Regions from separate parts of the Homo sapiens genome. Here all the other regions are linked to region 4. Evidence: promoter capture Hi-C in 16 types of primary human blood cells and fetal thymus (Javierre and others, 2016). All regions are on one chromosome and are shown on one strand. Each heading gives the region's core, a stretch centred on a gene start or on the middle of the fragment in contact. The rest is flanking DNA. Distances are from core to core; before and after follow the strand shown.

Region 1 (3,524 bases), core at 884-3,383, 470 kb before region 4:
GCCAGCTGGGCTCGTCGGCGGCTGAGGGGTCGGGGAGCGGGTGTGGGGTAGGGGACCCTGCGGAGGAGGGGCGGGGGGAGACCGCGAAGGTGAAGGTGGAGGCCGACCAGTAGGCTGCAGACCAGGGACATGGGTTAGTTAAGGCGGAGGTACGAGGCCGACCCGGGGAGGGGGACGGGGTGGGGAAACGGAGGCAGGGGACAGAAGAGGGGAGATTGGGGGAGAGATGACAGCTGCAGGGATGGTTGTGAGCCGCTAGTGATGGAGAGCAGAGGGAGAGGGCCAGGCTCCAGACTCCCACACGCCCACACAGCACCTCTGCCAGGCCTAGGAGAGGACAGGTGCAGCTCTTGCAGCTCTGCGGGTGTGCGGCCAAAGGCAAGGCCCACGGGCTGGATGTCACTTCCCCGACTGTCTCTTGGTTGGCTTGTCCTTGTGCAAGACCCAGCCTGTCACGACAGAGCCTGGGCACTTCAGAGGAGGAGCCAGGATCGAATGGAAGGGGGGAATTGGGGTCCACCATAGTCTTCTGCTCTGGTCCTCCACGGGTGGACCAGGATGGAGTCTCCTGCCTACCTCACTGCATTGCACTGGACCTGGGATGCCTATCCACCCTCTGGCAGAAGACACTCACCAGGTTATCTGTGAAGAGACTCTGGGATCCCATCACCTCAAAGCCAGAGGGTCCCCAAGTCACCGCTGAGAGCACTTGAGCCTCAAGGATGTAAGCCTGACCATAGGATCTTGACTCCAACAGCGGCAACCCCCACCCCCATTGTGGTCCGTCCTTAACCCATCCACTCTTCTTCGGAGGCAACTGAGAACACATAAAGCAAGCAGCTACCTAGCATCCCCCTCCTAAAGCTTTAGACTCAGAGCCCAGGGTCCCCCACAAGCCTCAAGGTAGCCTCAGGTTTCTCTAATTTCCTCCACTCCCAGTTCGAAGCAAACAGCTTACTGCCTAGTCCCCGCCAATCCCAAGGGCGGGCTGGCTGATGGCAGCATGGTGGGCTGGCCTGGGTGTGGAGTGAAAGAGTCACTGTGGTGGGGGCGAGAGGAGGACTTGGGAGCTGGAGGTGTGACACCTTCAGTTCTGTTCCTATTAAAGGACCTTCTGAAGGGCTTCTCTGTCGGTCTTGTATTCGGATTGTCCGCTTTGGGGAGTTGGGGGAGGAGGGGCCTCACCATGGTTTTGCCACCAGCAGTCAGTTGCATCATCTCTTCCTCCAAGCTTCTGTTTCCCCATCATCAGAATGGGGGGTGAGTAGGCCCCACTGTGGTTACGTGTTATGTGGTTCAGCTGTAGGAGAGGGGGGTCAGGGAAGTTTGGCAAAAGCACACTCAACATGCTTTGCATGCTTGTTGAGTGAGAGCCTCTGATTTGCACACCTTTCTGTTCACCCAGTGGGCCCCATGAGATAACTCACAGGCAACTCACAATGTGAACAGAACTCATTCCATTTTCCTCAAAGAAACCTCCATGCTTCTGATGTCATTGGCACCACCACCCAAGCTGGATACCTGGGCAGGTTTAAACCTTCTTCATCCTCATTCTTATGTCCAGTCCCTTATCAGTTTCCCTCAGTTGAGCCAGTTAATATCTTTGGAACTGGAACGTGTTTTCGGCATCACTACACTTGTAGACCAACAGTGGTCTCACACACAGACAACTGCACAGCAGTCCAGTGCCTGCATTTTTTTTTTTTTTTTTTTTTTTTTTTTTTTTTTTTTTTTTTTTTGAGATGGAGTTTTGCTCTTGTTGCCCAGGCTGGAGTCCAATGGCACAATCTCTGCTCACTGCAACCTCTGCCTCCTGGATTCAAGCACTTCTGCCTCAGCCTCCTGAGTAGCTAGGATTACAGGTGGGCGCCATCACGCTCAGTTCATTTTTGTATTTTTAGTAGAGATGGGGTTTCATCATGTTGGCCAGGCTGGTCTCAAATTCCTTACCTCAGGTGATCTACTCGCCTCGGCCTCCCAAAGTGTTGGGATTACAGGCGTGAGCCACTGCACCCGGCCACCTGCCCTCTTCATTCTCCATATGGCATCCATGCAGATCCTTGTCACCAAGACACAGCTCCTTGTGGCTTTGAGACGATTTGGAAATGTGAATGCCTACAGGAGCTGGGTGAAAATGTAAATACACGAGCAAGACGGCCAGGTTCAAGGGGAAAATATCAGCAACATGAAATAATGGCGATTGCCACCAGGTCTCAGAATTGGTATTCAACAAATTGGAGAGTGCCTCTTCAGAAGAGGGTAATGGCTGCTCAGCTCCGGAACACAGATTGGGTTGCCACATCTTCCAGTTTCTTTCAGAAGTTCCATTAGTTCACATTATGTAAAATCTTTTGATTTCCCAATGTTGGCAGTCAAGTCAAACTTTTTAAAAAATGCACAGACTAAACAAAAATGTGTTAGTGGTCATATTCGGCCTTGCAGCTGCCAGTTTCCAGCCTCTAGCCTATAAAATCACCCAAGCCCCACAGTTTGGAATTCAAGACCCTTCAGGGTTTAGCCCCCAGGAACCCAACCTCCAGCCATACTAATCTGTCTTAAATGCTCCAGAATAGCAGGGTTTAGTTCAACACACTAAACTCTCCGCCTGGAAATCTTTGCCACTTCTTTTTTTTTTTTTTTTTCTTATTTATTTATTTTTTTGAGACAGAGCCTTGCTCTGTCGCCCAGGATGGAGTGCAGTGGCATGATCTCGGCTCACTGCAAGCTCCGCCTTCTGGGTTCATGCCATTCTCCTGCCTCAGCCTCCCGTGTAGCTGGGACTACAGGCGCCTGCCACCTGCTCCCACCACCACACCCGGCTGATTTTTTGTATTTTTAGTAGAGACAGGGTTTCACCGTGTTAGCCAGGATGGTCTGGAGCTCCTGACCTCGTGATCCACCTGCCTCGGCCTCCCAAAGTGCTAGGATTACAGGCATGAGCCACCGTGCCCGGCCTCTTTGCCACTTCTTTACCTGGAAAACTCCAGTTGGTTTATGTCATCGTTCAGGGATCACCTTCTCCCCAAGAAGCTTTTCTAGCCCCCCTTCCACTCTGACAGGTGACTCCTCTGTGCTCCCTCAAGCCCTAGTGATACTTCCAAGTCCCTTACACTGTGAGGCTCCATTTCCATGTTACTGCTGAACCCTGAACCCTGGGGGCACTGGCACAACGTCTGTCTCATGCTGGGTCTTCAGCATTAGAACATGGAGCCACACAGGGTAGCTGCTCTCCCATGGGTCACACAGGACTCACCCAAGCAGCGCTCTTACCTAGTTTCATCTTCAAGTTTCTTTTTTTCCTTTTTTTTTTTTTTTTTTTTTTTTGAGATGGAATCTCGCTCTTGTCGCCTAGGCCGGAGTGCAGTGGCGCAATCTCAGCTCACTGCAACCTCCACCTCCTGGGTTCAAGTGATTCTCCTGCCTCAGCCTCCCGAGTAGCTGGGATTACAGGCACCTGCCATCACGCCCAGCTAATTTTTGTACTTTTAGTAGAAAGGATGGTTCACCATGTTGGCCAGACTGGT
Region 2 (3,477 bases), core at 271-2,770, 450 kb before region 4:
CCTTAAAATCCGTTCTCTTGGCCTGGCGTGGTGGCTCACGCCTGTAATCCCAGCACTTTGGGAGGCCAAGGCAGGCGGATTGCTTGAGCACAGGAGTTCAAGACCAGCCTGGGCAATATGGCAAAACCCCGTCTCTACAAAAAAAAAAAATACAAAAATTAGGCTGGACGCGGTGGCTCACGCCTGTAATCCCAGCACTTTGGGAGGCCGAGGCGGGTGGATCACGAGGTCAGGAGGTCAAGACCAGCCTGGCCAAGATGGTGAAACCCCGTCTCTACTAAAATTACAAAAATTAGCCAGGCGTGGTGGCGGGCGCCTGTAATTCCAGCTACTCGGGAGGCTGAGGGAGAGAACTGCTTGAACCCGGGAGGCAGAGGTTGCAGTGAGCCAGATTGCCCCACTGCACTCCAGCCTGGACGACAGCAAGACTCCGTCTCAAAAAAAAAAAATTAGCTAAATATGCTGGCGCCCGTCTGTAGTCTCAGCTACTCCGGAGGCTGAAGCAGGAGGGTCGCTTGAGCCTGGCAGGTCGAGGCTGCAGTGAGCGGTGATAGGGCCACTGCACTCCAGCCTGGATGACAGAGCGAGACCCTGTCTCAAAAAAAAAATTATCCGTCCTCCTTGCCCCACTCTCACGCAGTTCCTCCTGTTCTTCCCCAGCTCCAAGCCCCTACTCTCTATTAGATCAACTCTATCCATCCTCTTTAAACCGCTCTCACTTTCTGCGGACCAACCCCTAAACCTCTTTAAGCCCCACCCAACTCTAACCCTCTTCTAAGCCCCCGCCCCAGGTCCCAGCCTAACTGCCCCGCAATCTCAGCCCCACCCCTCGCTCCTTAGCCCCGCCCCAATCCACACCCCTTATCTCTAAACCTTACCCAGACCGTCCTGCTCATACCTTTGTCTTAATTTTTCCTTCCAAACAGTAGGTCCTCAGGACAAGGAGGTGGGGCAAAGTGGCTGCAGAATTTCTGGGAATTGGCTAGGAGAGAGGCGGTCGGACCTACAGTCAGGTCTGCATGGAAGGTTCAATGTTTTTAGTTAGATTGGATGTGTACTGGGAATACAGCTGACCCTTGAACAACAGGGGTTTGAACTGCAGGTCCATTGAGAGGCGGACGTTTTTTCACCCAAACACCGGTGGAACATACAGTATACGAAGGGCGGATTTTCCTACATCCGCGGGTTCCGCAGGGCCCACTGCTGGACTTGTGTATGCCCAGATCTTGGTATCTGCGAGGTTCGTGGAACCAATTCCCCGCGGACTCCGAGGGACCCATGGACTTTGGGGTCTGATGGAGATGGGGAAGGGGCCAAGGTTCCCCCCAAAACCATTCTTTGGCGAGCACCACGCTCATGAGGCACAGGAAGTGGGGTCCTCTCCAATTCCCCGCACTCCCGACAGGACGGTGTAGCCGAGGAAGAACATTTGAAGGCAGGAGAGGATGGCATCCCGGCACGGAACACACACAGGCAGCCAGCAGGCAGAGATTTATTTCCACAGCCCCTGCCTCCAAGGGTCTGTTAGTCTGGGGGAGGGGGGCTGAAGGCAGCTGGACCCCAAAGTTTAGGTCTCCACCCTCCACCTGCTCCCACAACGGGAAGACCACCGGAAACAAGGGTGTCCCGGCCCCCTGGCTCAGGCCCAGCACCAGCCAAACTCCCTGCTCTAAACCTGGCCCAGGGAGCGATGGCCGGGGGTGTGGGTCAGGCCGGCTCCCCTTTCCCCTCTGTCTCCTCCTCCTCCTCGGCCCCTGCTGTGGCCGGGATGCCCTCCTCGTCCCACGGCGGTTCAGACCCTGGATCTGGTGCACACAGGGGTACCCCCATGGCCTCCGGGTGCTTGCGCTTCGCATGGCGCCGGAGCGTGTTGGCCTCTGTAAAGCGCAGCCGGCAGATGGGGCACTGGTACGGGCGCTCCCCCGAGTGCACGCGGTGGTGGTGCGCCAGCTCGCCCGCCTCGCGGAAGCGGCGGGGGCACAGCGGGCAGCGGAAGGGCCGCAGGCCGGCATGGATGTTGCAGTGCCGCCGCAGGTGGCTGGAGCGCTTGAAGGTCTTGCCGCAAACCTTGCACTGGTGCGGCTTCAGCTCTGAGTGCGAGATGCTGTGGCGCTCCAGGTCGGAGAGGTAGGGGAAGGCCCGCAGGCACACCGGGCAGAAGTGTGGGGCCTTCCTGGGGCCAGAGCCCTCAGGCCCAGCCGCTGAACCTTCAGAGACCGTATAGGGCACACCCTGATCATCGATCAGGAGGAGGTCGCTCCCGCCACTGCTGCCTACTGGGGCTGTCACCCCCTGCACCTGCACCAGTGGGGGCTCCTGCCCTGACTTGGGGGGGCGGCCCCGCTTGCGAGGGAGGGAGGCCTTGAGTGTCCGATTTGAGGAGGTGGCTCCCCCAGGACGACGGCCTCGGCGGCCCCGGGGAACAGGAGGAGATAAGGCCAGAGGTTTCTCTTCCTCCCCGGGCAAAGGCGAAGGCAACGGGTCTGGGCTGGGGGTGTCCATTGAGCAGTGGGGGGCTTGGGTCTGGGCACTGGAGCCAGCTAAGAGGAGAGAGGGGCAGAGTCAGTGCTCACAGGGTCTAGAGCACCCCTGTGTCCCCCAACACCTCGCCCATCCCTCTCTCCAAGTCTCTTGACAAAGGTGTGTTTGACATTCATCCAGATACACAATTTTAGCTATGCTGGTGGGTAAAACAGTGAGATGATCTTGTATCAGCTGATAAACAGGCACTTCCCTGAGCTCCACCAGACATCCCTATGCCTCCCTAACTCTCCTTCTGGATCTAGAAGTTCAAGATCAACATGAGCAACACCCCTCCCCACCTCCCCACAAAAAAAAACCTTCCAGAGAGGATAGAGTCCAACTGAGAGTGCAGACCAGTATTGTGATCCTTGAAACGGAGAGCCCATCAAACTCCAGAGCCATAGAGGCCTCACGAATGCTCTCATCCCTCCCTGCTGACTGGCAGAAGTGGGGAAGGGGTTCCAGAGTGGAAAAAAGGGACTGGTCCCAGGTGATATTTGACCCTGATTCCTGGATGAGGAAACATATCTGCGATGTTAAGAGCCTGGGCCCTGGAGTCAAGACATCATTCGTTCAAATCTTTACTCTCTGCGTGGCCTTGGGCAAGGTGTTCGCTTCTCTAAGCCTTAATCAAGACTTTTGCAAAATGGGACACATAGTTCTACGTACTTGCCCAGACATGCCATGAGCATAATACCCACAAAGTGTTCATACACAGAAGCTTTCAGGACACATTAGCCATTGTTATCAGGAGCAGCTAAGCCTCACATCAACCCTCTGAATAGGGCATATCTGTCCCATTTTGCAGATGGGGAAACTGAGGCACAGGAAAGCCAAGTCAGTTGCCTAAGTTCCTCTGCCAGTAAATGGCAGGGCCAAAACTGGAAACAGGTCTTGTGACCCGAATGTCCCAGAGAATGGAGAACAAATAAACCCAAGGAGGAAAGGGGACAT
Region 3 (3,134 bases), core at 292-2,791, 340 kb before region 4:
AGAGACAGACAGGCGGGTGACCCGGGCCCCGTCCCCTGCATTTGTGCCAGGGGCCAGAGCCAGGACCCCACACACGTCACCGGAGCCCCGCACGGCCACCCAGGGGCCCCCCAGGCCACCCGGCGGAGGCAGCGAGCCCCATCGGGCCCGCAGGCCCAGCTTCACGGCGGCCACAGCCAGGAACACCGGCAGGAGGAGGGCCAGGGCGAAGGAAGCCAGGACAAAGCGCAGGCCGCTGCTGGCCGCCGCCAGGAGGAGCAGGGCCGGCGGCCGTGTCAAGGCATGGAGGGCCACGCGGTTTTCCGTGTCCTTCACGCCGGCCTGTGGGCAGGAGGGGTGGCTCAGCCATCCGAAACGCTAGGGCCTCCTGGACAAAGAGAGGAGGTAGACCCTGCCCGGGGCGGGGTGAGAGCTCCCAAATGGGAAGGGAAGGCAGCACAGTCCGATGTTCAGTGTGGCACACTGGGTATGGAGTGAATGAATGAACGAGAGCGAATGATGGATGGATGAGTGAATTAGGAGCTGTGGGGGCACTCAATTCAGTAGCAATGCCGCAGTGAGGCCCCAGGGAAGTAAGGACAGGGAGGTTGCCTCAGGCTGGAGTGGAGGCTGGAGGGAGGCTGCTGGGCTAGGTTGGGGTGCTGGGCTGTGCTTTGAAGAGTTGGGGTCCGAGGCACAGAGCTGGCTGTTGTGCTGGCGTGCACAGCCGACTGGAGATGGGAGACCAGGGAGGGCGTTGGTGCTGGGGTCCCAGTAGGGCTGGGGGGGTGAGCCCCCACCTGCCACACCTGCTGTGGTTTTCAGCAGCAGGGCGGCTGAGGCTCAGGAGGAAAAGATCCCGCTCCAGGGGTCCAGGCTGGCTCAGGTGGGTGGGAGGGGGTGGCTGAATCCACTTGCAATTCCCCCACTGCAGCCACTCCCAGGCCCCCTGGGGCCCCTGCCTCTCACCTTCAGCATCTCCAGCACCAGGGGCTTCTCATCTTCCCTCATCTCCCGCACTGACAGGTGGCTGGGGGCCATGGCAACCCCCAGGCCCCGGCCCCCCAGAAGGGAGCTGGCGTCGTGCACCTGGTGAGAACATAAGTAGGTCAGCGTCAGGGGGGCACCTCTGTCCCCAAAGCTCCCCCGAGGGGTAGGGAGCAGCAACGGCACTTCCCAGATCAGGACACTGAGAACCCTCGGGGCCCCCAAGCGAGGATCTCGGCAGGACAGGCGCCCCCCACAATACTCAGCGACCTTGCTAAAGTCTCCCGGGATCCCCCCTCCCCCGTATTATTCAGCGATCTACACTCCCAAACGCGCTGCGGACGCCAACACTGCAGCACGGGGCTCCCTCCCAGGCACTGGGGTCCACGAACACCCTCCCCACATGCCAGAGAACGGACCACGCTCGCTCCACCCCGGTCCCCAGCGCCCCCTCCCCCACAGTCGTCCCCGTCCCGCGCCACAAGAACAAGGACCAGCAAGCACCTGCACCGGTCGCCTTTGGTCCTTCGACAAGGTTTCGGGAGCGGGTCTGGAAGGGGGTCGCGGGCGGAAGTGACGTCAGACCGCGCGCGGTGGGGCGGGGCGGCGCCCGCTCCGGGCCGTAGCAACCGTTGCTAAGCTCCCCGGAGGGCGGGCTGGGAGGAACCGAGCTGTGACCCTGCGGAGGGCCGGGAAGCGACCTCTCCTATCCCTAGAGAAGGAGCAACGGGGAAAGGGGACCTGGGGAAGAACGGGAGCGGAAGCCGGCAGGAGACGGGCGGCGGGCTGGGGACCAGCGCGAGCTCCCGCCCCACGTTCCCTCGTTGCTGAGCAACCTGAGCGCCGGGCGGCGACGCCAGCGCGTGGATTCTCATCCGTGCCGGGGCCTTCGCGGGAGGAGCCGGCCACGCTCAGCATCCTGGCGCCCGACTCCCCCATCCCCAGGGACCCCACTCCACCCACGGGGCGCCCGGGGTCGCAGAACCCTTCCGCATAAGGATCCCCCTACTTCTCACACGAGGGGGGCAGCGGGGCGACCTACAGTGAACAAGTAGCACTCCCTGGAGTCTGATGTCACCACCTCCCCACTATAATGACCCCTGCGGCCTTTTTTGGTTTCAGGACAGGGGAACTGAGCCCTACGTAGTGGCTGGCCCCAGGATGCAGAACAAGCCATCTGCGACCCAGGACGCAAGACTTAAGACTCCACGCTCCCAGGCGGGGGCTAGGACCATGACTTTGCCCCCTTCCCTCCCCCCAGGAAAACAAAACACAGGCGGGGAGACTCGGGTCTTTATTAGCAAGCCCAGCCTGCGGCACCCTGCCCCGCCCCGGCTGGCAGTGAGTCGGGGTCTCTGTGCGGGGCGGGAGGGGAATCACTGCCTCTCCTCAAAACGTGTGCACCAGCTGGACTGCGGGTAGAGTCTGGACAATCTGGATGGAGGGCAGGCCCTGAGGGGTCATAACACCAGGCCCAGCTCCTGCGGGGACCACTTGCACCATCTGGGAGGCTGGAGCCCCGGGGAGCCCCGCGGGGCCCGAGGCTGGGCCTGACGGCGGTGGGGCCAGGAGCTGCAGCGTGGCGGTGCCTCCTCCAGTGTTGCTGCTGTCCAGCAGCTCAGTGGCTGGGGCGCTGCGGATGATGAGGAGTTTCTGTCCGGGTGGGCCGGTGGCAGGCGGCTCCGTCAGCCCAGGAGGAAGTGTTTCTACCTCCTGTACGCAGAGTCGAGTCTGTTCGCCATCGGCCCCGCTCAGCACCAGCACGCTCTGCAAGCCCTCGTCCGTCTGGAGTGTCTCAAAGAGGACATCCTGGACCACACCAGTGCTGGCCTCGCCATCCCCCGCCTCCCCGGGGCCCGGGCCAGTGAGCAACTCCTCAGCTGCCCCGCTCTGAACAACCAGCAGGTTGGGTGCCTCAGTAGCCACAGCTCCCCCACTGGAATTGGAGAGCTGGCCGGCCACGGGCTGGAGCTGGACCGTGGTCACCTCCTGTGCTGGCTGGAGCTGGACCGTGGTTACTTCCTGTGCTGGCTGGAGCTGGACTGTGGTCACCTCCTGCGCTGGCTGGAGCTGGACCGTGGTTACTTCTGGGGCTGGTCGGAGGGGCTGGAGCTGCACCCCACTCATTTCCTGTGGCCCTGCCTCCCCACCCCCCACATTCTGCAGAA
Region 4 (3,280 bases), core at 733-3,232:
GTTTCACCATGTTGGCCAGGCTGGTCTCGATTTCCTGACCTCGTGATCCGCCCTCCTTGGCCTCCCAAAGTGCTGGGATTACAGGCGTGAGCCACCGCGACTGGCCGCAAACACATTTTACATGCATCCCACCTTCACTTGGTGGTGGAGGCTTAACATTTAAGTGCATTCCATTGAATGCATTCGTATCGAAACACGAAGCAGGGATATGAAGACACTCAGTGCACAGCCTCTGTCAACAGCCAGAACCAGTCCGTGGTCTGCGGCATCTTATCAGGAGAAAGTTACTGAAATCAGTCTCTTGTTCAACTAATGCTGTAGTTATGCCTTGTGGAACAGGGGGTTCAGCTAGTCAGCATCTGGCAATGGATGGCTGCAATGGTTGTAATATTGCTTATCTTGAGGCCGGTGCTTGTTTAGCTGCTAGAAAAAGGAAAAGCCTTGTGGCAGTTGGAACATAGTCGATTATATAAGTGTAGGGATGCGTGGCTTAACCCTTGCCTGGCATGGCCTTAGGTCTTGTTTATAATTTGGTATCTTATTGCCACAAACAGTTCATTCCATCAGTCTTCTGATCTCTATTGTCACAGCTCCTCTGGCCCATGTGGAGTGCACAGAGATGCCAAGACTAAAGGTCAAAGAGAGAGAGACACAGAGAAACAGACAGGCAGAGAGACATGACCGACAACAGAGAGACTGAGTTGGGAGTAGAGAGAGTAGGAGCCAGGCAAAGACCCAAAGAGAGAGGGAGAAAATACCACAAGATGCATAGAAGGAAGTGCAAAGAAAGGAGAAAAGAGAGACAGAGATATACTCACAGCAAGGTGCAGAGACATGGAGACCCTATAAGAGATGGAAATGGAGAGCCACAGAGGGGGAACTGCGGGCACTAAGAGAGACATGGAGAGAACTAGAAAGATAGAGACGTGAACACAGACACAGAGACCCAGAGCCAAAAAGAGACAGAAATGGGGTCATAGGTGGACAGAAATGCACAGAGAGACTGTGAGCCCCCACAGACACAAACGCTGAGAGGGGCAGACATGCAGAGACACCCACAGAAATGCAGAGACAAAACCACCCGGAGACACATGCCGAGAAACACACTGAGGGGCTCAGAAAGCGACAGATGCAGAGAGAGCCCAAGACAGACCCAGCAAGGGGCCCCGAGAAATGCACAGAAACACAAAGACCGAGACCACCAGAGACAGAGGTACGGAGAGGCGGGGAGGGTGAGGAAGCCTGCTCTCCAGGGCTGGCTTGAACCTAGAACTCAAGGTCATGGCTTGGCTGGGAAGCGGGAGGGGGATACCAAAAAAGATCAGCGTTAGATGGAGGTGGGGAGGGAGGGTAGGTTTCACCCTAATTGACACCCCACCCTCCCCCTCCCCCTCCCCACACCTGCTTCCCGGCTTTAGTGCCTGTTGTCACCAGGATGGAATCCTGGCGGCAGACAAAGGGGTGGGGGTGGGAGGAGGAGACAAAAAGATGGACAGAGACAGAGGAGGAGACTAAGAAGTAGAGACAGACACACAGAGACACACAGATGGAGAGCCACAGAGACAACAGAAATGGGGGTCCAGAAAGAGACCTAGATAGAAAGAGGGAACAGAGAGAAGAAAACAGGAAACATTCCTTATAGCCCATGTGTCATTAGTAGGTCCTCCAAGGACCTACTGTGTGCCGGGCATGGGGACGTCAAAGCACAGGGAGCTATAAGGGAGGTAGTTGGAGCACCACGGGAGCCTGGGGTGTGGGGTGGGAGCAGGGGCGGGGCTCCTGGGCCATGCAGATGGGGTTGGCATGGGGTTGGGGAGGGGCCCACGGAGGCTTCTGGACTCTGAGTGTGGAGCCAGGGGCAGCAGGGCTGTCTCTGAACTCCCAGGCTTGTGTTTGAGCAAAGGAATTCTCTCCCCCTCCCTCTCCCCTCGGGGCGGGCCCGAGCCTCCAGCTATAAACTCCCCGGAGCTTCAGTGCCCTCAGCAAGGCTCAGCCTCAAGATTCACAGCATCTCAGACACAGCCTAGGTAAGGGGCTCTGCGGAGCCCTGTGGTCTTCAAAAACCATGTCCTTGGGGGAGGGGGCAGGAGGCAGGTGGGGAAGATGTCGGGTGTGGAGAAATGGTGCAGAGGTAGGTGGGGCATACAACTGGAGGTCTGGGAACTTGAGAGGCTCAGACTTTAGGGGGACTCAGGATAGAGGGGAAAATACTAGGATTTGTGGGTTACACAAATCCTAACCCGGGGCTGCCAGGACTTGGATGTCCCAGAATAAAACCTCCTAGGATCTTGGGGTTCTGGGAATCTGGGGGAAATCTCAGCAGTCAGGGATATCTGGACTTGGAGGTCAAACAATCTGGGTGTCAGGATTTGGGGCCTCAGACTCTGAGGGTATCAGGAATTGGGGGGGTCTCAGAAGAAATTGGGGTTTTGGTAGTGGAGGGCTCGGAATCTGAGACATTATGATAGAAAGCATGAAAACTTAGAGTGCCATTATCTGGGGTATCATGAACTGGGCCTCCGAGTTTGGGTATCAAGATTTTGGGGGTCTCATATTCTTGAGGTTTCAGATTTTAGGAGGTCTCAAGACCTGGGGGTGGTCTTAGGATGTCCCGGCCCATATCTGGACTATCAAGAACTGGGATTTCAGAATCCAGAGCTGTGAGGACTTGCTGGCCTCAGAAACACGGGCATCATAAATCGGGGTCTCAGAATCTGTGGGTATTGGGATTTGGGGCTAGGCACCCTGTGGCCTAGGGTGTCTCAAAGACTTTGAGGTCTAAGAATGTAGGGGTCAGGGTGAGGTCTACGGACAGAAGGTGCCCTTTATGCCCCTGCCCCCTACGTGATGTATGGGAAGGTGAAAGGGGAGACAGGTGGGGAGGAAACCAGCCAGTGGGGTGGGGCGAGTGGGAGAGGGGATGCGGGTGACTAATTCTCCCAGAAGCCCCCCTTCCTCAAATCCCTTCTTAGGAAATGTCCTCGGTTTCACCATCTATGACATCCCCCCAAAATAGCTCCTGGGGGTGGGGCAGCTATTGTCTTCAGGCCACTGTCCCTTCTCAAATGCCTCTTCCTAATCCCAACTGGATCAGGTTCCCATGGACTTGTCATAAGACAAAAGAGGACAGCTGTGCTGAGGGGGCAGGGTCTGCAGCCTCCTGGCTGTGCCAGGACCACACCTACCAAGGTCTGTCCTCATGCATGCTTTAGGACAGCCGGCCCCCTCCCTCAGACCCAAGAGTCCAGACCTGAGCCCTCCTCCCTCAGACGCAGGAGTA
Region 5 (3,194 bases), core at 227-2,726, 420 kb before region 4:
AGACGGCCTTGGAGATAGAGCCCAGCTTTTTCATTGCGCAGGTGGAAAACTGAGGCCAGATGCGTGGGACAGATGCAGAGAATGATAAAGTCACCAAATGACGGTGATTATTGAAGGAGTTGTGGTTATGTAGGGAACACGACCTGCCATTTGTCTTTCACTTGCTGAACACTTTACACGTACGATCGCAACCACATTTGTTTGTTTTTGCTTGTTTGTTTGTTTTTTGAGACGGAGTTCACTCTTGTTGCCCAGGCTGGAGTGCAATGGCACGATCTCGGCTCACCGCAACCTCCGCCTCCTGGGTTCAAGTGCTTCTCCAGCCTCAGCCTCCCGAGTAGCTGGGGTTACAGGCATGCACCACCATGCCCGGCTAATTTTGTATTTTTAGTAGAGACAAGGTTTCTCCATATTGGTCAGGCTGGTCTCGAACTCCCGACCTCAGGTGATCCACCCGCCTTGGCCTCCCAAAGTGCTGGGATTACAGGCGTGAGCCACCGTGCCCAGCCTGCAACCACATTTGTTAATAATAGGAACCCACTTCTTGAGTATTCACCCTATGTCTGCTTCAAGGGTACTACGTAGATTAGCCCATTTAATCCTCACAACAGCCACATAAAATAGATACTATTATTGGCTCTGTTTTCGTTTTGCCTTTTCATAAACAGCTTTACTGAGGTACCATTTACATATAGACTTCATCCATTTGGTCGTACAATTCGATAATTTTTTTTTTTTTTTTAGACAGAGTCTCACTCTGTTGCCCAGGCTCAAGTGCAGTGGCTTGATCTCGGTTCACTGCAACCTCCGCCTCCTGGGTTCAAGCAATTCTCTGCCTTAGCCACCCAAGTAGCTGGGATTACAGGTGCCTGCCACTACGCCTCACTAATTTTTTTTTGTATTTTTAGTATGAACGGGGTTTCACCATGTTGGCCAGGCTGGTCTTGAACACCTGACCTCATGATCTACCCACCTCGGCCTCCCAAAGTGCTGGGATTACAGGCGTAATTTGATAATTTTTAATAAATGTACAGAGTTGTGCCTCTATCACCACAATCCAATTTTAGAATATTTCCAGGCTGGGTGTGGTGGCTCAGGTCTGTAATCCCAGCACTTTGGGAAGCTGAGGCGGCAGGAGCACTTGGAGCCAAGAGTTTGAGACCAGCCTGGACAACAAAGCAAGACCCTGTCGCTACAAAACATTGAACAAAAATTAGCTGGCTGTGGTGGCAAGTGCCTGTAATCCCAGCTACTTGGGAGACGGAGGTGGGAGGGTGTCTTGAGCCCAGGAGTTGAAGGCTGCAGTGAGCTATATGAGTTGAAGGCTGCAGTGAGCTATGATCACACCACTGAACTCCAGCCAAGGCCACAGAACAAGATCCTGTCTCTAAAAAATAATAATAATAATAAATAAATTGATGAATTAATTAAAAATTTTAAAAAGAATATTTTGATCACCTCAAAAAGACATTCTGTGCCTGTTAATAGTCATTTTCCATTCCCACCCTCAGCTCTGGGCAACCACGAATCTATTTTGTCTCTATGGATGAACCTATTCTAGACATTTCATATAAATGGAATATGCCATATGTAGCTTTGGTGACTGCCTTCCTCCTCTTAGCATAATGTCTTCAAGGTCTATTCACATTGTAAATTGTGTCAGTTCAGTACTTAATTGCTTTTTAGTTGTTGTTGTTGCTGTTATTGAGAGAAGGCCTCACTTTGTTGCCCAGGCTAGAGTCCAGTGGTGCTATCATGGCTCACTGCAGCCTCAACCTCAAGTGATCCATCTCTCCCCAGTTTCCTGAGCAGCTGGGACCACAGGGTGCATCATGACACCTGGATAATATTTTTATTTCTTGTAGAGATGGGGGTCTCACTATGTTGCCCGAGCTGATCTTCAACTCCTAGGCTCAAGCAATCCTCCCACCTTGATCTCCCAAACTGCTGGGATCAAAGGCATGAGCCATTGCACCCACCCTCTTCATTCCTTTTTTACAGCTGAATAATATTCCACTGTATGGATACACCACACATTGTTTATCCTCTCATCCGTTGATGGGTGTTTGTATTGTTTCTACTCTTTGGCTGTTTAAGTAATGCTGCTGTGAACATGCATGTACAAGTCTTTTTTTTTTGTTTAGAGACGGAGTCTCGCTCTGTTGCCCAGGCTGGAGTGCAGTGGCATGATCTCTGCTCACTGCAAGCTCCGCCTCCCGGGTTCATGCCATTCTCCTGCCTCAGCCTCCTGAGTAGCTGGGACTGCAGGCACCAGCCACCACACCCAGCTAATTTTTGTATTTTTAGTAGAGACAGGGTTTCACCCTGTCAGCCAGGATGGTCTCAATCTCTTGACCTCATGATCTGCCTGCCTCGTCCTCCAAAAAGTGCTGGGATTACAGGCATGAGCCACCATGCCCGGCCTTTGTTTTTTTTCTTTTTTTTTTTTTTTGACGGGATCTTGCTCTGTTGCCCAGGCTGGAGTGCAGTGGTGTGCAGTCTCGGCTCACTGCAGCCTCTGCCTCTGAGGTTCAAGCAACTCTCCCACCTCAGCCTCCCGAGTAGCAGGGATTACAGGGGCACACCACCACACCCAGCTAATTTTTGCATTTTTAGTGGAGACGGGGTTTCACCATGTTGGCCACGCTAGTCTCAAACTCCTGACCTCTGGTGATCCACCTGCCTCAGCCTCCCAAAGTGCTGGGATTATAGGCCTGAGCCACTGCGCCCAGCAACAGGTCTTTGTGTGGGCATATGTTTTCATTTCTTTGGGGCAGATTTCTAGGAGCAGAATTGCTAGGCTGTGTGGGAAGTGTGTGATTCACTTTTTAAGAAAGTGCCAGACTGTTTCCCAAAGTGGCTGTACCATTTACAGCCCACTAGCGATTATGAGGTTCCCAGTAGGCCCTGCTTTCCTGAGAAAACTCAAGTACAGAAATGTGAAATGAATTAGCCAAGGCCACACAGCTAGTAAGTACCATGCCAGATTTGATCCCAGGCATTGTGACTGCAAAGCCTGGGCTTTTAAACTTTACACAATGCTTCATCCTTACCTCATTCATTAAGTTTTTTTTTTTTTTTTTTTTTTTTGGAGACGGAGTCTCACTCTGTCACCCAGGCTGGAGTACAGTGGCACGATCTCAGCTCACTGCAACCTCTGCCTCCTGGCTTCAAGCGATTCTCATGCCTCAGCT
Region 6 (3,547 bases), core at 283-2,782, 390 kb before region 4:
TAGCCAGGCGTGGTGGCAAATGCCCGTAATTCCAGCTACTCGGGAGGCTGAGGCAAGAGAATCACTCGAACCAGAGAGTTGGAGGTTGCAGTGAGCCGAGATCACGTCACTGCACTCCAGTCTGGGTGACAGAGCGAGATTCCGTCTCAAAAAGCAAAAAAAAAAAAAAAAAAAAGAAATAAAAAACCCTGAAGGGTGGGTGCAACCGTCCCAGAAAAAAACAGGGGTCTGAAGTCCCACTGTGGCCCAAGGCTTGGGGACTTCCTAGTGGGGCTTAATCTCCCTGTGCTTACAGCAGGGAGGCACTCACTGGCCTGTATTCCTGTTATGCGCTTTCAAACTATTTTTATTGTTATTCCTCTCTTTGGAATCAGGAGCCCTCAGGCCCTCCTCCCTCAGACCCAGGAGTCCAGGTCCTCAACCCCCTCCTCCCTCAGGCCCAGGAGTCCAGGTCCTCAACCCCCTCCACCCTCAGGCCCAGGAGTCCGGGTCCTCAACCCCCTCCTCCCTCAGACCTAGGAGTCCAGGTCCTCAACCCCCTCCTCCATCAGGCCCAGGAGTCCGGGTCCCGTGTAGAAAATGAAATCATTTCTGGAACCCACCCCTGCCTTGACCCCACCCAGCTGCCCCATCAATGCCCCATTGACAGGTCAGACACAAGTGCTTGGAGAGGGGTGTCCAGGGGATCAGATGCTGGGGTCTAGTTTGGGGAAAGAATGAGACAATGAGATTCCAGAACGATGCAGTGTGGGATGACCTCAGACTCAGAGGGGCGGGAAGCAGGTGCTGGAGCAACTGGGAAGAGAGGCCTTGAGGGGGTGGGGAGGCCTCAGTTCTGCCGGAAAACTTCAGATGGGTGGGGGAGGCTGAGGCCTGGACTCCTGGGTCTGAGGGAGGAGGGACTGGGGCCTGGACTCCTGGGTCTGAGGGAGGAGGGGCTGGGGCCTGGACTCCTGGGTCTGAGGGAGGAGGGGCTGGGGGTCTGGACTCCTAGGTCTGAGGGAGGAGGGGCTGGAGACCTGAATTCCTGGGTCTGAGGGAGGAGGGGCTGGAGACCTAGACTCCTGGGTCTGAGGGAGGAGGGGCTGGGGTCTAGACTCCTGGGTCTGAGGGAGGAGGCACTGGGGGACTGGATTCCTGGGTCTGAGGGAGGGAAAGCTGGGGGCCTGGATTCCTGGGTCTGAGGGAAGAAGAGCTGGGGGCCTGGACTCCTGGGTCTGAGGGAGGAGGGGCTGGGGCCTGGACTCCTGGGTCTGAGGGAGGAGGCACTGGGAGACTGGATTCCTGGGTCTGAGGGAGGAGGCGCTGGGGGCCTGGACTCCTGAGTCTGAGGGAGGAGGAGGGGCTGGGGCCTGGACTCCTGGGTCTGAAGGAGGAGGGCTCAACTCTTGGGTCAGGGTATTCACCTGACCACAGCCAGTTCCAGGAGTCATCACACGATGTCGCTCTGCTCCCAGTGGGGGCAGAAGGGGCGGGCCCAGGGGCGGGGCCTTACGACCCCCAAAGTCGGGGCGGGGTCTTGCTCCTAGGCAGGCCTCTGCTGGCATGAGCCCTAAGTGCCGGGCACTGACCACAGCCGGCGGCCGGAGGGTCAGGAGGGCCTTGGAGGAGGTGAGGTCTGGAGGTCTGAGCCCAGGTTGGGAGGTGGGCAAGGTGCCCTGGCCTGAGGTGGGCAGCACCTGAGGGTGACTGTACCAGGTGGCCCGAGTCCTCGGTCCCTCAGGGGAGCCTGGGCTGCACCTGGAGGCTGTAGAGCGGTGGAGGGTGAGGGAAACAGAATCAGGGGGTCCCCAGTTGTGTGAATTGTATGAGGTTCCGGGAGAGAGGTGGGCTGGGGGCCTGGACCCCTGGGCCTGGCGGAGGAGGGGCTGGGGGGCTGGGTCGGAGGGAGGTGGGTGGGCTGTGAAAGTGGGACCCCAGGCCTGTCAGGAGCTTGGGGACTGATCCCAAGTGCTCGGTCCCATGCAGGACCCAGGCGTCCCAGGCCCTCTGCACAGCCCGCCCTCCCAGCCCTGAGCCCAAGAGCACCTGTTTGTTCTCAGGAGACAGAGTCTACTCATCCACCCCCAGGGCCCAAGTCTGTTTGCTTTGGAAACAAGATGGGGGAGTCTCAGTTATCTGGTTCATCTTTCAACCTCAGGGTGGGCGGGTGGCGGCGGCGGCACGCGGGCAGGGACATCTGTGACCTGGGGCTTGAACTCACACCAGACTTGTCTCCCCACCTCTCACCAAGAGGGAGACTGAGTCACAATGAGAAGCGCGATGAGCCCCCAGCCCCTCCTCCCTCAGACCCAGGAGTCCAGACCCCCAGTCCCCTCCTCCCTTGGGCCTGGGACCTGAGCCTGGGCACCCCTCTCTGTTCTCGCAGAGATGCCCGGCAAACAGTCTGAGGAAGGGCCGGCGGAGGCAGGGGCTTCGGAGGACAGCGAGGAGGAGGGTCTGGGCGGCCTGACATTAGAGGAGCTCCAGCAGGGCCAGGAGGCTGCCCGCGCGCTGGAGGACATGATGACGCTGAGTGCTCAGACCCTGGTCCGAGCCGAGGTGGACGAGCTCTACGAGGAAGTGCGTCCCCTGGGCCAGGGTTGCTATGGCCGCGTCCTTCTGGTCACCCATCGTCAGAAAGGTACGAGGCTGTGGGGCCAGAGGTGGCAGGGTTCAGCTGGGGGCGGGGCACGGGCCTGGGGTAGCCCAGGCTGGGGAGGCTGGCAGGCCTGAATCAAGTCTTACCTCTGCCCTCCAAAGCTGTGTGTTTTTTGTTTTTTGTTCTTTTGGTTGGTTGGTTGTTTTTGAGACAGTCTGGCTCTGCCGCCCAGGCTGGAGTGCAGTGGCACAATCTCACTGCAACTTCCACCTCCCAGGTTCAAGTGTTCCTCCTGCCTCAGCCTCCCATGTAGCTAGGACTATAGGCATGCACTACCACACCCAGCTACATTTGTGTGTGTGTGTATTTTTCTTTCTTAGTAGAGATGAGGTTTCACTCTGTTGGCCAGGGTGGTCTCGTACTCCTGGCCTCCAGTGATCCGCCTGCCTCAGCCTCCCAATTGCTGGGATTACAGGCATGAGCCACGGTGCCCTGCCAAAAACTGTGTTTTGAGGAACTCCCTTGCCCTCTCTGAGTCTCAGCTTCCTCCTTTGGAAAATGTGGGTGATGATTTCTACTTGGAAGAATGGTGGATCCTCTGAGTGAATGTGGACTGCTCTAGTTGCTGGGGTTGTATAATGCTGGGTAAGACAGAGCTCCCAGCTCAGGAGCCTCCTGTGGCGGCTGTAGTGGTCACCGTGGGATGATGCAGAGTGATGCTGTCTGCTAAGCACTTAGCAAGGCCGGCACACAGTGGGTGCGCAGGACAGCTCCCCACTACCCTGGGCCTTTCTGCCAAGCACCGTGTCCTTCCATGAAACGGAAAATAGGGAGGCAACCTGAGGTCAGTCAGTTCAGGGCACGCCTTCTGAGGCCAGCCCTGTGCTGGGGGGGTTGGGCGGGCAGTGGACCCAGAATTGAACCAGAGCCAGTCCCTGCCTTCAAAAATCTCCTAGCATGAATGCA
Region 7 (3,185 bases), core at 237-2,736, 480 kb after region 4:
TTAATATTTAGCTTTTTTTTTTTTTACTGTTAGGGGTTGGTTTTTTAGCTTTTTGGCTTTGACTTGAGTGTGATGCATGTAGAAGTTGATTCCTGTAACTTTTACTGCCGAGGAGGTTGAAAGACGAACAGTGTAGGGCCCTTTTTAGCTTGGCTTAGGGAAGGAGACAGAGATGAGAGTTCTTACTAATACTAAATTTCCTGAGTTAAATAAAGGTGGTTTTATTTCCTAGGGCTGGGCTTCTGCTATTGTGTCAATTTTTGTTGGAAGTGAGCTAGAGAGGTTACGTGGTTAACCATTCTAGAGGTTTCCCGTCTGAAAACAATGTTTGAGCCCATTGATAAGTTTTATTTTTTCCTGAGTGAAAAGCTTAGGACTTCAAGAACTTTCTGTTGGCTGGAGGCTGACCAATAAATTTGCCATCCTGACTGTAGCCATCCTGAGGGCTGAAAAGTATGCCCTTGAGAAGTGGCTTATTCTATTTTTTCAGGGGAATACTGAGGTGTGATTTCTCTTATGGAGCCTTTTTAGATTAGAAGGGGCTTGAAGTGCATTAAGGCCTTGAAGCTTTTATGCCTTTGACTTAGCTGCCCGATTGGCTAACTTATTTCCTTTGGCTACCTTATTGTTTATTCTTTGATGTTTCTTACAATGCATCCCTGCTACTTTTTGTGGAAGAAAAAATAAGAATAACTTGCTAATTTTTTGGTGATTTTTTATAGGAGATTTATTAGCAGTAAGAACATGTTTTTTTGTTTTAAATGGCAGCATGAGCATGGAGAACCAAGAAAGCATACTTGGAGTTAGTGTAAATGTTAGCTGCCTTTTCCTTGCTTAATTTAAGTGCTTTTTAAAGAGCTATTAACTCAGCTAATTGAGTGTTTGTGCCTGGAGAGAGTGACTACTGCTTATTCTGCCTTATTTACTTTTTGCTTTACGGGCTGTTTACCAGCTAAGAGCTCCCCCTAGAGGACAGTGATTCTGCTACATTATGTGGGCTGTAAACAGTTAAATTATTTTTATTTTCTAGGGTTAACTTGCAGGCTTTTCTGACTAGTAGAGCTATCATGACAATGGCTTCAATGGCTTGAAAGCATGTTTTTTTGATTTTTTGTTTGTTTGTTTGTTTGTTTTAGATGGAGTTTCACTCTTGTTGCCCAGGCTGGAGTGCAATAGAGCGATCTCGGCTCACTGCAACCTCTGCCTCTTGGGTTCATGCAATTCTCCTGCCTCAGCCTCCCAAGTAGCTTGGATTACAGGCATGTGCCACCACACCTGGCTAATTTTTTGTATTTTTAGTAGAGATGAGGTTTCTCCATGTTGGCCAGACTGGTCTTGAACTCCCAACCTCAGGTGATCCACCCACGTCAGTCTCCCAAAGTGCTGGGACTACAGGCGTGAGCCACCGTGCCTGACCGAAAGCATGTTTTAACTAAGATTGAGAAAATATTGGATTAGACTTTTTCCTAAGATGCCCCTTACGGTTGTGATGAAGGAAGAAGGGAGGCCTGGATTAGAGAATAGAAAAGAGAGAGAGACTAGCTTTAGTGTTTAGAAGGAGGTCTACTTTCCTTCCTTTAATTTCCAGAATTATCCAGGGCTCTTGTGCTATAATGGCAGTTTGAGCTACTGGAGCCTAGGTTCAAGCACCAGGATCCATCAGTTTTGCTGGACCATCTGTGAGACTGGTTTTGAACTCAGTGACCTCCATGTCTGGGGGCAGTTCTGTTTTCAGTGGTTTTTGCCACAGGCTGGACAGAGTGGAGGTTGCTTCATTTTGCTGACTGGACATTCTGGCCTGCTACACTAATAGCAACTAGAGGATGCATCTTGGTGATCTGGGACTTTGCGAGCCTTCAAAGCTGCTGCTAGAGACTTTGTCCTTCTCCTGAGCTTTTTTTCTTTCTTTTGGGACTCCTCCTGGTCCATATTATAAAAGACCAAAGTGGCCACCTTCAGGAGGTTTTTTAAGGTGCTATTTGGTCCTGTAGCTTTCTTTTGTAGTTTTTTTTTTTTTTTTTTTAATATTGGGAGCTGCCTGTGTAATAAATTTGTCCCTCAGGATGAGCTGTTACTTAACTGGATTAGAGAATAAAAAGATATACTTTTTTAGTGCCTCTTTTAGCCTTTTTATAAAGGCTACAAGATTTTTATTTGGCTTTTGTTCCATTATAGACAGTTTAGAGTAATTGAGAGGTTTGGCCCTGGTTTTCTGTAGGCCTTTAAAAATGCATATTAAAAAGGGCTTTTTCATTCATTTGGGTCACCATGATGTTTTGAATACATGGTGTTGTCTGGAGGTGGCCATCACACTTGGCACAGGTGGTAACAAAGAGAAGACAGTAGGAATCACCATATTGAGTGAACCCAGTTTTTAATGGTTGGCATTTGCACATTAAAGCTTGCTGGCCGGGCCATTTAAGCTGTCATTTCTGTTAGAAAAGAGATGGTTCAGGGATTGTTCCTTATTACTGGAAAATTTCCACCAAGAACCTTTACCCTTACTATCTGCCTAAAACAATTTCTTAGTAACTCCTGTATTACCAGGAGGTCACTGGGGGAACAACAGCTTGGGGTAAACACTCTATGAGGCATAGCACCTGTAGGTCCCCGCATGGGCTGAGGTCGCAGGACTCATGGAGAATTCAACCTCTACCACAGAGTAGGGTACTTTGATATTAGATACGAGGGTGGGGTCTTGTCAGCTGCATCCTCCTCAGATAGAAGGAAAGTGTCTGTCCACCCAGCTTTGCATCTGACACAGCAGGGCCATGTTCTCTCCTGAGACCACAGTGGGGCCTGGTTGCACCAAGAGGGAGGCTGTCTCACGGATCTGTCCTGGAGAGAAGAAGGATGGGTGAGGAGCCGCCCCACCTTGTTCTGAGCTGAGACTTCCCCAGGCCTCTCTCTGGGACCCTCAGTATCTCTGTCTCTGTTTTCTCTGAGTTTCCCCGTCCCCGCCCAATCCATCCTCTCTCTCTCTCTGCCTCTCCCTCCCTTGAGACCCCCACCCCTCATCCCAACCATCACCACCTAGGCTCCCCTGGCAGGGCCTGTACAGAGCCTGGGTCCCTAACTGAACCCGCTGGGCTTCTCACCTGCGATCAGGATGTCCAGGGGGGTCACTGGGGGCTGACCACCTAGAGGAGAGGTTGTGTCCACTGAACATCTGTACTGGCCCCCAT

What was found. Contacts are between HindIII fragments. The CHiCAGO score rates a contact against its expected background, and 5 or more counts as called.
Region 1: a contact is called between a fragment that was not itself captured here and the fragment with the promoter of TNNT1 in region 4, in 10 of 17 cell types (activated CD4 T cells, M0 macrophages, M2 macrophages and 7 more). The highest score is 8.5, in activated CD4 T cells.
Region 2: a contact is called between a fragment that was not itself captured here and the fragment with the promoter of TNNT1 in region 4, in 1 of 17 cell types (erythroblasts). The highest score is 5.1, in erythroblasts.
Region 3: the fragment with the promoter of NAT14 here is called in contact with the fragment with the promoter of TNNT1 in region 4 in 17 of 17 cell types (naive CD4 T cells, activated CD4 T cells, M2 macrophages and 14 more); the score reaches 17.1 in naive CD4 T cells.
Region 5: a fragment that was not itself captured here is called in contact with the fragment with the promoter of TNNT1 in region 4 in 1 of 17 cell types (total CD8 T cells); the score reaches 5.4 in total CD8 T cells.
Region 6: a contact is called between the fragment with the promoter of SBK2 here and the fragment with the promoter of TNNT1 in region 4, in 8 of 17 cell types (activated CD4 T cells, non-activated CD4 T cells, naive CD4 T cells and 5 more). The highest score is 9.5, in activated CD4 T cells.
Region 7: a fragment that was not itself captured here is called in contact with the fragment with the promoter of TNNT1 in region 4 in 1 of 17 cell types (M2 macrophages); the score reaches 5.3 in M2 macrophages.

Annotation. Positions count from the first base shown.
Region 1 is chr19:55,618,340-55,621,863 of GRCh38, reverse strand. ZNF784 (zinc finger protein 784) reads left to right here. Exons shown (of 2, transcript NM_203374.2): 2 at 1-1,123. The coding sequence ends at 113. Among named protein-coding and RNA genes, the nearest start is that of ZNF784, 4.5 kb to the left of the region's middle. The HindIII fragment of the contact is 1,799 bases long and covers 1,234-3,032 here.
Region 2 is chr19:55,601,138-55,604,614 of GRCh38, reverse strand. ZNF524 (zinc finger protein 524) reads right to left here. Exons shown (of 2, transcript NM_153219.4): 2 at 1,477-2,540. The coding sequence starts at 2,502. The coding sequence ends at 1,708. Among named protein-coding and RNA genes, the nearest start is that of ZNF524, 2.6 kb to the right of the region's middle. RefSeq lists enhancers at 1-346, 1,450-2,000. The HindIII fragment of the contact is 3,453 bases long and covers 1-3,246 here.
Region 3 is chr19:55,483,595-55,486,728 of GRCh38, reverse strand. NAT14 (N-acetyltransferase 14 (putative)) reads right to left here and starts at 1,541. Exons shown (of 3, transcript NM_020378.4): 1 at 1,471-1,541; 2 at 949-1,068; 3 at 1-321. The coding sequence starts at 1,020. It overlaps ZNF628 (zinc finger protein 628), which reads right to left. Exons shown (of 3, transcript NM_033113.3): 3 at 2,242-3,134. The coding sequence ends at 2,356. RefSeq lists an enhancer at 902-1,231 and a silencer at 1,332-1,751. The HindIII fragment of the contact is 21,455 bases long and covers 1-3,134 here.
Region 4 is chr19:55,147,908-55,151,187 of GRCh38, reverse strand. It overlaps TNNT1 (troponin T1, slow skeletal type), which reads left to right and starts at 1,982. Exons shown (of 14, transcript NM_003283.6): 1 at 1,982-2,027. The HindIII fragment of the contact is 19,232 bases long and covers 1-3,280 here.
Region 5 is chr19:55,569,228-55,572,421 of GRCh38, reverse strand. No RefSeq gene overlaps it. Among named protein-coding and RNA genes, the nearest start is that of ZNF579, 10 kb to the left of the region's middle. The HindIII fragment of the contact is 6,950 bases long and covers 1-3,194 here.
Region 6 is chr19:55,535,118-55,538,664 of GRCh38, reverse strand. SBK2 (SH3 domain binding kinase family member 2) reads left to right here and starts at 1,532. Exons shown (of 4, transcript NM_001370096.2): 1 at 1,532-1,611; 2 at 2,369-2,623. The coding sequence starts at 2,371. RefSeq lists a silencer at 629-923. The HindIII fragment of the contact is 39,425 bases long and covers 1-3,547 here.
Region 7 is chr19:54,672,001-54,675,185 of GRCh38, reverse strand. No RefSeq gene overlaps it. Among named protein-coding and RNA genes, the nearest start is that of LILRB4, 11 kb to the right of the region's middle. The HindIII fragment of the contact is 1,834 bases long and covers 570-2,403 here.